3 separate regions of the Homo sapiens genome follow, and regions 2 and 3 are each linked to region 1. Evidence: promoter capture Hi-C in 16 types of primary human blood cells and fetal thymus (Javierre and others, 2016). All regions are on one chromosome and are shown on one strand. The core of a region is centred on a gene start or on the middle of the fragment in contact, and the rest is flanking DNA. Distances in the headings are between cores, read along the strand shown.

Region 1 (3,475 bases), core at 576-3,075:
AAATAAGACTTTCAAACATTAGACAAGCTGATTAAAAAATAAATATGCATAAATAAAAAACGATTAATAAATGGGGAATAACTCAACCAGATATTGACACATAATATAAGGTTATAATAATTAAAACCATTTTGAGCTTTAAGAGACACAAATGGAATGGAATAGAAAATCCAGGTACAGAAACACACAGAGAAAAGTACTACATTATAAAATAATAAACATAAAATATCAAATATATGATATCGAGAAATCTAGCCTGCCATCTGGATAAAAATTCAAGTTGATTGCATACCTTCTTCTTTACTCAAGGCAAATTTTAGATGAAATATAAGTTCGTTGTTAACAGTAAAATAAAATTACTAGACAAAAACTTGGAAATTTACTTTATAATTATAGTATGGAGAAAGCTTTTCTCAAAAAGACATAAATTTAGAAGCCTTGAAAGAATGAGAAATTTGATACCTGTATTAGTTTGTTTCACACTGCTGATAAAGACATACCCCAAACAGGGAACAAAAAGAGGTTTAATTGGACTTACAGTTTCACATGGATGGGAAGACCTCAGAATCATGGCAGGAAGCAAAAGGCACTTCTTACATGGTGGCAGCAAGAGAAAATGAGCAAGAAGCAAAAGCAGAACCCCGTAATAAACTCATCAAATCTCATGAGACTTATTCATTATCACAAGAATAGCACTGGAAAGACCAGCCCCCATGATTCAATTACCTCTCCATGGGTCCCTCCCACAACATGTGGAAATTCTGGGAGATAGAGTCCAGGTTGATATTTTGGTGGGGACACAACCAAACCATATCAATACCCCAAAACTAAAGGTCATGAAAAATAGCATAATAATGTTAAAAGAGATATGACAAACTGGGAAAAATTTATTTGCAACATATAGGACAGAAAAGGAATTCAGTTCTCTAATACACAAATAGCTCTTACAAATCAATAAGAAAAAAATTAAACATCCCAACAGGAAAAAAAAAATGGGCTATAGTCATAAATAGGCAGTTCACAGAAAAATAAATAATATGGCTTTCTAACCCAAGGATAAAAACACATATCGTTCTTCAAATTCTAGTGATGCAATTTGAACCCCAAATAAGAGACTTTTCTTTACTATCTCACTGGCAATGTAAAAAGGTTTTGTAATACTTGATATTGGTGTGGGTGTGTGGAAAAGATTACCCTGATACTTTGTGAAAGTATTAATTGGTAGCACCTGTTTGGAAGGCAATTTGACAATACTCATCGGTTAAAATTTACATGACTTTGACCTAAAAATTCCACTTCTAGAAATCCATTAATACATTAAAGGAACAATTACATGTTTGTGCAAAGTCTTGTAAGCAAGGATATTTGTAGCAGCACTTTGTAGTAGCAACGGTAAAAATAGATATACATCAATGAGGGACTGGCTAAATAGATTAAGCTTAAGAGGTAATATTCTGCACTATTAAAAAACACTGAGATTGATCTATAGATGATTATATAAACCTCCAAGTTATATCACTGGTAGATATTATAGCATGAGGCAGGACAGTTTATGACATGTGCTTTCATTAGGTAAAATAATATGTAATAAATATGTGTGTAGATATGTACTTTTAAACGTGTATAGGCATATGTACACAGAGAGACCTTGATATGGTTTGACTATGTCCCCACCCAAATCTCATCTTGAATTGTAACACCCACAATTCCCATGTGTCGTGGGAGGAACCCGGTGGGAGGTGATTGAATTATGGGAGCAAGTTTTTCCTGCGCTGTTCTCGTGATAGTGAATGAGTCTCATTAGGTCTGATGGTTTTAAAAACAGGAGTTTCCCTGGACAAGTTCTTCTCTTGTTGCCACCGTGTGAGATGTGCCTTTCACCTTCTGCCATGATTGTGAGGCCTTCCCAGCCACGTGGAACTGTAAGTCCAATAAATCTTTTTCTTTTGTAAATTGCCCAATCTCAGGTATATCTTTATCAGCAACGTGACAATGGACTAATACAGAACTTTTTATTCTTTTATATTTATAGACTATTTATTTAAAAATACACAAGAAACTGTTGACTATCACCCATGGAGGGAAGGCTGAAGAACCGAGGGTCTGGTGTAGAAGAGAGAGTTCCTGAAAATGAACATTTTTGTAATATTTAAATATATATTTTACAATGTGTAATATTATTATTGAAAAAAATCAACAGTTTTAAAAGCTAATGAACTTAATAAATTAATCACTTTTTGCATCCATGAAAAGAGTAAGCAAAAATAAGTTTTTTATGTAGTATGCATAGTGTAAGGAAAGCAAGTCACTTGATGAACTCGTGCTTTTTTCTGTATATTGAAAAGATTTCAGACCCTACTATGTGCTAGTCCTAATGCCAGGTGCTTAAAGGACAACAAAATCAACATTTGCCCGCAAGGAATTCACGGTTCAATGGGAAGACCTCACATTCAGTCTTAGAGAAAGACTGTTGTTTCTCTTGCTTAGATCTAAAATGTTTAGTAAAGGCAGATGCCTCGAAGACTATGACAGGAACTTACCTAATTCAGCATTCTCCTCTGTAGACCTCACCAAGTCTCTTGGTAATTGTCAACATCTGTGAAACAGTTGACACACCTCACCACCCCTACGTCACTGAACTTCCAGGAATGATCCCAAGAGACATTTTATAAGAAGAGCTACTACCCATTTTGGTTCTATCCACTGAGCTTTACAGAATAATTTCAATTCCCAGAGGCATTACTCTTTTTAGCTACCGCTTTGGAATGTTCTTCCCCTTTGGTTCTCCTTCTTTGGCTAACTCCTGCCCAATATTAAATATTGGCTCAAGTGTTTCTTCTGAAAGTTTTCTCTGATTACGTGACACACAAATTAGGTTGAGTGCATTTTCCCCATGTTCCCACAGCTCTTTCTTCCTTACATTAGCTATTTATTTGTCACGTCCTCATACTAAAATACAAATTTACTGACATGGTTTGGCTGTGTCCCCACCAAAATATCAACCTGAATTGTATCTCCCAGAATTCACATGTGTTGTGGGAGGGAACCAGGGGGAGGTAATTGAACCATGGGGTCCAGTCTTGCCTATGCCAGTCTCTTGATAGTGAATAAGTCTCACGAGACTTGATGAGTTTAACAGGGGTTTCCACTTTTCCTTCTTCCTCATTTTCTCTTGCTGCGGCCATATAAGAAGAGACTTTCCCCTCCCGCCATAATTCTGAGGCCTCCCCAGCCATGTGGAACTGTCAGTTCAATAAACCTTTTTGTATTCCCAGTTTGGGGTATGTCTTTATGAGCAGTGTGAAAACGAACTAATATATTTACTTAAAGTTGTATCCCTGGAGGCTGACATAGAGTAGGAACTCTAGTTTAATGATTTCAACTTTCATGATTTCACTATCCTCCCTTGGGTTCTCCCAGTTTACAGGGCCAAACTGAATTTTCGGCTTGTTTTCCCTGCAGGTCCATCCCTGCT
Region 2 (3,475 bases), core at 494-2,993, 1.9 Mb after region 1:
GAAGGCTGAATGGGAAGGGAAATTTTGTGCCACAGAAAGATTTTGTTTTACAGATGGGAAAGATTTGAATATCAGTCTAAGCTGTGGAAGACGAGCAGGCTGAGAGTCACAAGCAGTGGATACAAGACAGAGCAGGCATCGCTGGAGAGGGGAGGTTCCTGAGGACCAAGGAGGAAGGCCCCTTCCCTCTTGAGGCAGGTGGCTAGAAGCAAGGGGAGAGTGTGAGGGAAAATAGATTTGCAGGTTGATTAAAGGCAAAGGCAATGAAAATAAATGTCCTGAATACAAAAGCTCATTTGGTAAAATTTGAGATACTATTAATCTGGGAGAATTGATGAGTTCATTAAACAACTGAAGATTCAAAAAGATATTTACAATCTAGAGTGAAGAGCTACAAACTGGCTTCTGTAGTGTAAGTGGAAATTCTGCAGTTGATTTTTAAATTAGCTTGTGCAAATACAGGAGGGTGACTTGATGTAATGGCAAATGATAACATAAAAAATTAATTGATGGTATCTCCATTTGACTAAAAAGGCTTAGGAGGCTTTGAAAAGCCAAGAATTTGAGGTTATCAATGTGGGTTCTCAGGGGTTTGCAGAATTCTAGCCTAACAACTATTATACCAATTCTTTCTAAAGATGCAAAGGCAAGGAATAGTGGGTGGTGTGATTGTTGAGGCAACTTAATCTATACTGTTCTTTATAATATTTTAATGTCCTTTATTTGCAAACCTTGCTATTTAAGCTATAATTGGAAACCAGTTCTCTGTGATCTATCTCAAAACTGACTATACCAAAGGATGTGGCTACAAATGAGGCTCATAAACCTCCCTGACAACCTGGGAATTTTTTTTTTTTAAATAGAGTCTCGCTTTGTCACCCAACCTGGAGTGCAGTGGTGCTATCTCAGCTCACTTCAACCTCCGTCTCCAAGGTTCAAGCGATTCTCTTGCCTCAACGTCCTGAGTAGCTGGGATTACAGGTGTGCGCCACCATGCCCGGCTAATGTTTGTATTTTTAGTAGAGATGGGGGTTTCACCATGTTGGCCAGGCTGGTCTCGAACTCCTGACCTCAAATGATTTGCCTGCCTCGCCCTCCCAAAGTTCTGGGATTACAGGCATGAGCCACCATGCCCGGCCTGGAAAAACTTTTTAAGAAGTGTCCCCACAGAAATTCCAATTGATTAAGTCTGGGCAGGGGATGAGGTCAATGAATCATTCTGATGATCAGTTAGATTTGAAACCACTGAACTGCGTAGGAAACTAGTCATTAACTGGTTTGGAGGTGACTGGTTCCCATCCTAAACACCTACAGAGAGATAGAACTTTTTTCCTTGTGCTTCGCAAGCATTCAGAACAATTAGATTGGGCCTGTAGTGGGTATGACAAACTTATGTGCTTGAATCTGTGGCTAATTATGATTTACTAGAGGCATTTGTTGGTATTGGATATAAAAATGTAGAAAGATCTGCTTAGACTTATAAAACTCATTTTCTTAAAACAATTCAGTTTTCAAAATAAATTCAATCAGTATGTATCTATTCTTTTTAATATTTTCAAGTGAATAGTCATTAATAAGCAATAGCTATGTGTAATGATGCTGTGGATGTTATGAAGAGAGATGAATAAAGTCATAAGAGGTGGTTTGGAACTAACTCGTCATACCCAGAGAACCTACATTTTAAAAAATGAACAAATAATTTATCATCTGTATTCTTTAGGTTTAATTTTATTAGTCGTCATATTTAAGTTATGATTGATATACCATGAAGTCCATGCTTCGTAAGTGTATTGTTTGATGGGTTTTAGTAAATCTGTCCCGCTGTGTAAGCACCATCACCGTTCTAGAACACTTCCATTTTCTGACAGCAAAGTCCCCTCCTGCCTGTATACAGTCCCACAGCCTCAGTGAATCTCTGATCTACTTTCTGTCTCTATTATTTTTGCCTTTTCTAGAAATTCCCTATAAATGGAATCATAAAACCTTTAGGGTTTTGTGATGGGCTTCTTTCACTCAGCATAATGTCTGTGAGGACGATCCTATTCTTCGTGTGTATAAGTGTAATCAGTCACTCCTTATTTTTCGCTGTTGCATTTCTGTCTGTGATCCATTTACTAATCAATTTTTTGTGTATCATGTGAAGTAAGACTCTAAGTTTATGTATTTATGTATGTATGTATTTATTTATTTTTGCATCTGGATAACCAGTTGTCCCACTACTATTTAAAAAGACCATCTTTCCCCATTGAGTTACCTGGGCACCCTTGTTAGAAATCAATTGACCATAAGTGTACAGATTTATCTGTACATTCTCTCTTCTGTTCCATCAATCTTTATGTCTGTTCCCACAGAAAGCATAAGTATTAATTTATGAAACCTTTGTTTCAGTTATATAAAGTAGGCTATTGTGTAAAATGTATTTCCTACTGAGGATTATGGTAAAAATATTTTTTAAACGACATTTGTCTAGGGAGTGCCAGATAATATTCACAATAAGACACAAAAAAGAGTCCTAGAATAAATAGGCTGTTGGAAACCCATAAAGATTGCAGAACCAGGTACACCCTCATGCTTTGCAGAAGGGGAAACTGAGGCTTATGGAGAGAAACTAACCTTCCCAAGGTTATGACAGAATGCAAGACTGGAGGACCCCTGCCTGGAAGACCCCATCTTCCCACTGCACCTCCCAGCTTCTTCTATCTCCTCCCTCCACCAAGCTCCTGCTGGCAGCAGCTGGCAGAGCCCACGGGGGCACAGGGCTAGGCAGCAGCCCACTGGTGCTCCTGTCTTAACCCCTCTCCTCAGCCTCCTCTCTGAATCTCTCTGAAAACAGTCTCCCCAGATGCTGCAGAGCCCTGCCAGGTCCAGATGACAGTTCCCTGGGCTCCTACCCCTTCCTTCTTCGGAGATGAAGGAGCTGGCTTTTCTTCAAGGACTCTTCTCAGAATGGAAAAAAGAAAGCAGTGCCACCGACGTCAAATGGCTCTTACACAATGGTGGAGTCTTGCTCAGAATTGTGTAAATAACTGGGGAACATATGAATTAAATTTCCCTCTACTTACCCAGGGATGTAATAAGTCAGGACTGTGAGAAAGGCTGCCACTCGGCCCCAGCACTCAGAACACCTGAAGGAGTTGTCATGTCCCCAACCCTAGTGGCTTCTTACCCTGGAGCATTTCTATCCCTCTCAAGTTCCAAGGGCTCCTATGCTCTGCAAGGCACCCACACATGGGCTTGCCTCTGTCCCTGACAGGGTGGCCTCGGTCATGACTGCAGCGTCCCAGGCAGCCTCCACCCCTTCTTCATAGGGAGAGCATGCTTCCAACCTCTCAGACAGGGCTGGATATGTCTGATCATTAGTTCATTCATTCATCCCTTCACTCAACTAATACTTGTTAAGCACTGTGTTGGGAAATGCTGTGCTAGCAGTGGGAATGCAACAGTGAACAAGAAAACACAGTCCTGCTCTCATGCC
Region 3 (3,475 bases), core at 374-2,873, 1.9 Mb after region 1:
TGTTAGGAAATGAATGAGACTTGAAACTGACAGTAGAGCCCCATCCTCATGAAACCAAAGTGTAAGAAGAATGCAAAATGAAAGGAAAATCAATCTGGCTGTTGAGGCTTTGTTTGATTTACCTAATTGATGAATTCAACCAACACTTACCAAGAATCCTTTATATATTGAAGCCCTTGGTTCAGCACCTTGGAGAGGATCCAGAAAAGACCTGGAGACCTATTTTGTTCCTAAGATATTTATAGTATCAGGTACTAACAAACTATGACAAAGTAGAAAATAACTGTGATATGTAGAAGTAGGAGGTTCAATTAAGGAGTGAGTGGAACTTGGGAAGATTATTCTTACCAAGAGAATCGGGAAAACTTTCCTAGCCAGTCAATATTGGAGCTGAATCTTGAGAATGAGAAGAATGCAGACATGCCAGGAGGAAGGTGAGTCAAGGCACTACCTGAGAGGCAGGTGAGTGTGAGGACTGTTCATGGTACAAGGAGCTAATCCACAGCATTTATCAAGTGCCTACTGTATGCCAGGAGTTGTGCAGAGCTCTTGAAACAAATTATTTCATTTGATTGAGAAAACTGAGGCACAGATAGGCTGATCACCTTGCTTGAAGCTTAGAAGTGACAGAATGGATGCCATGTCTGGTAGTAGTTATAGGAGTTTGTATAAAAGGTGCTGACGCTAAATCAAGAGGACTTTGGATATCAAGCTTAGGAGGCAAATATGTCCAGCTCTTGAGATATTCTCTATAGGTCTTGTTACTGAAAAGATTGAACATATTAGTTATTAGCTAAATGTTTCTCTCATCGTAGTGATTTGGGATGTCTTGAAAACCTGGGCTTCTATGGCAGAAGTGAAGATGTTCAACTGCTGTTACTTTTTCTTACCACATGGTTCTTGCCTCTAAATTAAGCAGAACTCTGAAATAATCTAAGAAAAGTCTTACTTCAGTTGGAATCCTTTGACTCTGGCAGAGGAGAAGTAAGGAGTCTTGCCACAGGTAGGCAACAGACTGGTTTAGAAAGGAGTCCCCACCACTCACTTCAGCCTGAGTAAGAAAGCCCTATTGTGTGGAGAATAGACAGAAGAGGCTAGAACAAGCACCTACAAACCAGGGATCAGCAAACCAAGTTCAGCTTTCCACTTGCTTTGTAAAGAACATTGTAATGAAACAAAGCCAGGCTCATTCATCTATTTATTGTCTATGGCTGCTTTCACACAACGATGAAGTGTTGAGTAGCTGTGACAAAGTCCATGTGGTCCACAAAGCCTAAACCCTCTGGCCCTTTACAGAAAAATGTTGCTGACCTCTGAAACAAAAAACTCAGAAAATCCTAGCATATCCACATGGGAAGGGAGAGTGGCCATCCTGTAATCCAATTACCTTCTCCCTCTCCACCCTGCTGCCGCCCACACACCGATAAAGAATCTGAACCCAAGAGAGGAAGAGATTTGCCTAAAATCACAGAACTGGTAAGAGAGCATACTTGGGGTCCCTAACTGTTAGACTAATATTCCTTCTGTTAATACCACACCAATCCTGAAAGGCTAAGGTAAGTTGTTTTCTTTTATTTTTTTCCTTTTCTTTTTTTTTTTTTTTTTTTTTTTTTTAGACAGAGTCTCACTCTGTCACCAGGCTGGAATGCAGTGGCATGATCTTGGATCACTGCAACCTCCACCTCCCTGGTTCAAAAGATTCTTCTGCCTCAGCCTCCCAAGTAGCTGGAACTACAGGTGTGTGTCACCGCACCCAGCTAATTTTTGTATTTTTAGTAGAGACGGGGTTTCACCGTGTTGGCCAGGATGGTCTCGATCTCTTGACCTCGTGATCCACCTGCCTCGGCCTCCCAAAGTGCTGGGATTACAGGTGTGAACCACTGTGCCCAGGCAGGTAAGTTCTTTTCTAAGCAACTATTCAATAACTACTTCCTGAAACACTGGGTGCCCAGCACCATCCCTTCTCAGGCTGCTGTGAGGAGTACAAGTTGCAGAAAGGAAGCCTGATGCCTTCCCATCATGTGGTCTGCACCAGAAGTGGTGGGAGACCTCACACAGTGGAGCAGTACCCTAAAACCTGCAGCTTGCGAAGGGAAAGGATACAGCATCATAATTTCCCTCTTAACCCTCTCAGAAAGTCCCCACAATGCAGATTGACTTTACATTCCTCTATGAGTCCGATGCCAGCAGTCGGTCCTCCAGGGCTGGAAATGATTTCTGCTTGTGGATAATGCCTCAGATGAAGTCGCCAGCTTGCGTTTAGCAGCCGTGTAATTCAGGATGCCTACAACTCTGAGCAGCACTCAGGGAATGAGACACATTGAGGAAACGGCAGGCACTCGGCTGCCATCCTACCCTCAGCCTGGGCTGGGGCTCTGCTTAATGAGCAGAAGGTCAGGCGGCCTCCCCAAACTGTTCAAATTACTTTCCTGCTCTTCTTCCCCATCAAGCTCAGGTAGTTAAATGAGAGCAAGTGTGACTCCACTGAACATAGGAAGCAATTCGAGCGTGGGGTTGTGTGTGGTAAAGCTTTCAGTGTCTAATGCAGACTGGCCATGTAGGGGAAGTGTGTGGAGTGTATGTGTGTGCGGGTGGGGGGGTTTCTAATGGTTAGGAACCCTAATTATGCTCCCTTAGCAGTTCTGTAATTTTAGGCAAATCCCTTCTTCTCTCTTGGGCTCAGATTCTTGTCATAAGCTAGTGGGAAGAGGAGATAACAGAGTGGATTATGACTGTTTGATCCACCCCCATGAGTAGATTACATGGGAGCACCATGTTTGGGGAGGTGAGAGATTTCCTCAAACAGGAAAGTCTTTTCTGGAAATAGCGGAATTGGATCTGGACTTTTTATCAGAGATTTATAGAATCATGCAATCAGAATGTCACCTGAAGGTCACTGACTCCCAGGTGATGCCCAGAGTGAGAACTGCACCTGAAGCATCTGAGACAGACAGGCTGTGCTGAGTTATCCCAGCGGCACGCTCACTATTTCCCGGGGCGCCCGCCATGTATTCAGACAACTTCAATTGTCAAGTAATGATTCTTTACATTGAAATGAACTCACAGTTTTCAGTCCTGTCTTCAAGTCCACATAGAATGAGTCTGTTCTCCCATTCCTCATGTTGGCACTGAGGGTGTTTGCTTTAGGCAGTAAAGTCCCCTTTCTATCCCCTCTTCTGTCCTCCTGATCATGGAGCAGATGGATGGATGATGTGTGTGTACATATGTGAGAAGACATGTGTGTATGCACATGTACATATGTGTTGGGATATGCACAGGAGAGAAGAGGGAGTAAATACAGCAGTTCTGAATTAGTACAGTATAAAAGCCAGGTGGAAGAGAGGGTAGAAAAACAGGCAGGCTGTACTGCAGAGGGCATTATATGTGAAACTCACGCAGCTAGACTTGAAGTAGGAGAGTGACACAGCCAAACTGGCAGTTTAAAAAGATTTCTCTGTGGCTGGGCTCAGTGGCT

What was found. Contacts are between HindIII fragments. The CHiCAGO score rates a contact against its expected background, and 5 or more counts as called.
Region 2: a contact is called between a fragment that was not itself captured here and the fragment with the promoter of TPRG1-AS2 in region 1, in 2 of 17 cell types (total B cells and monocytes). The highest score is 7.5, in total B cells.
Region 3: a contact is called between a fragment that was not itself captured here and the fragment with the promoter of TPRG1-AS2 in region 1, in 2 of 17 cell types (monocytes and neutrophils). The highest score is 10.2, in monocytes.

Annotation. Positions count from the first base shown.
Region 1 is chr3:189,238,944-189,242,418 of GRCh38, reverse strand. TPRG1-AS2 (TPRG1 antisense RNA 2) reads left to right here and starts at 1,825. Exons shown (of 3, transcript NR_046722.1): 1 at 1,825-1,922; 2 at 2,033-2,142; 3 at 3,463-3,475. The region is part of intron 4 of TPRG1 (tumor protein p63 regulated 1); the gene reads right to left. RefSeq lists an enhancer at 2,743-3,475. The HindIII fragment of the contact is 9,051 bases long and covers 1,441-3,475 here.
Region 2 is chr3:187,313,839-187,317,313 of GRCh38, reverse strand. No RefSeq gene overlaps it. Among named protein-coding and RNA genes, the nearest start is that of MASP1, 24 kb to the right of the region's middle. The HindIII fragment of the contact is 3,543 bases long and covers 1-3,475 here.
Region 3 is chr3:187,337,481-187,340,955 of GRCh38, reverse strand. No RefSeq gene overlaps it. Among named protein-coding and RNA genes, the nearest start is that of RTP4, 29 kb to the left of the region's middle. The HindIII fragment of the contact is 1,817 bases long and covers 715-2,531 here.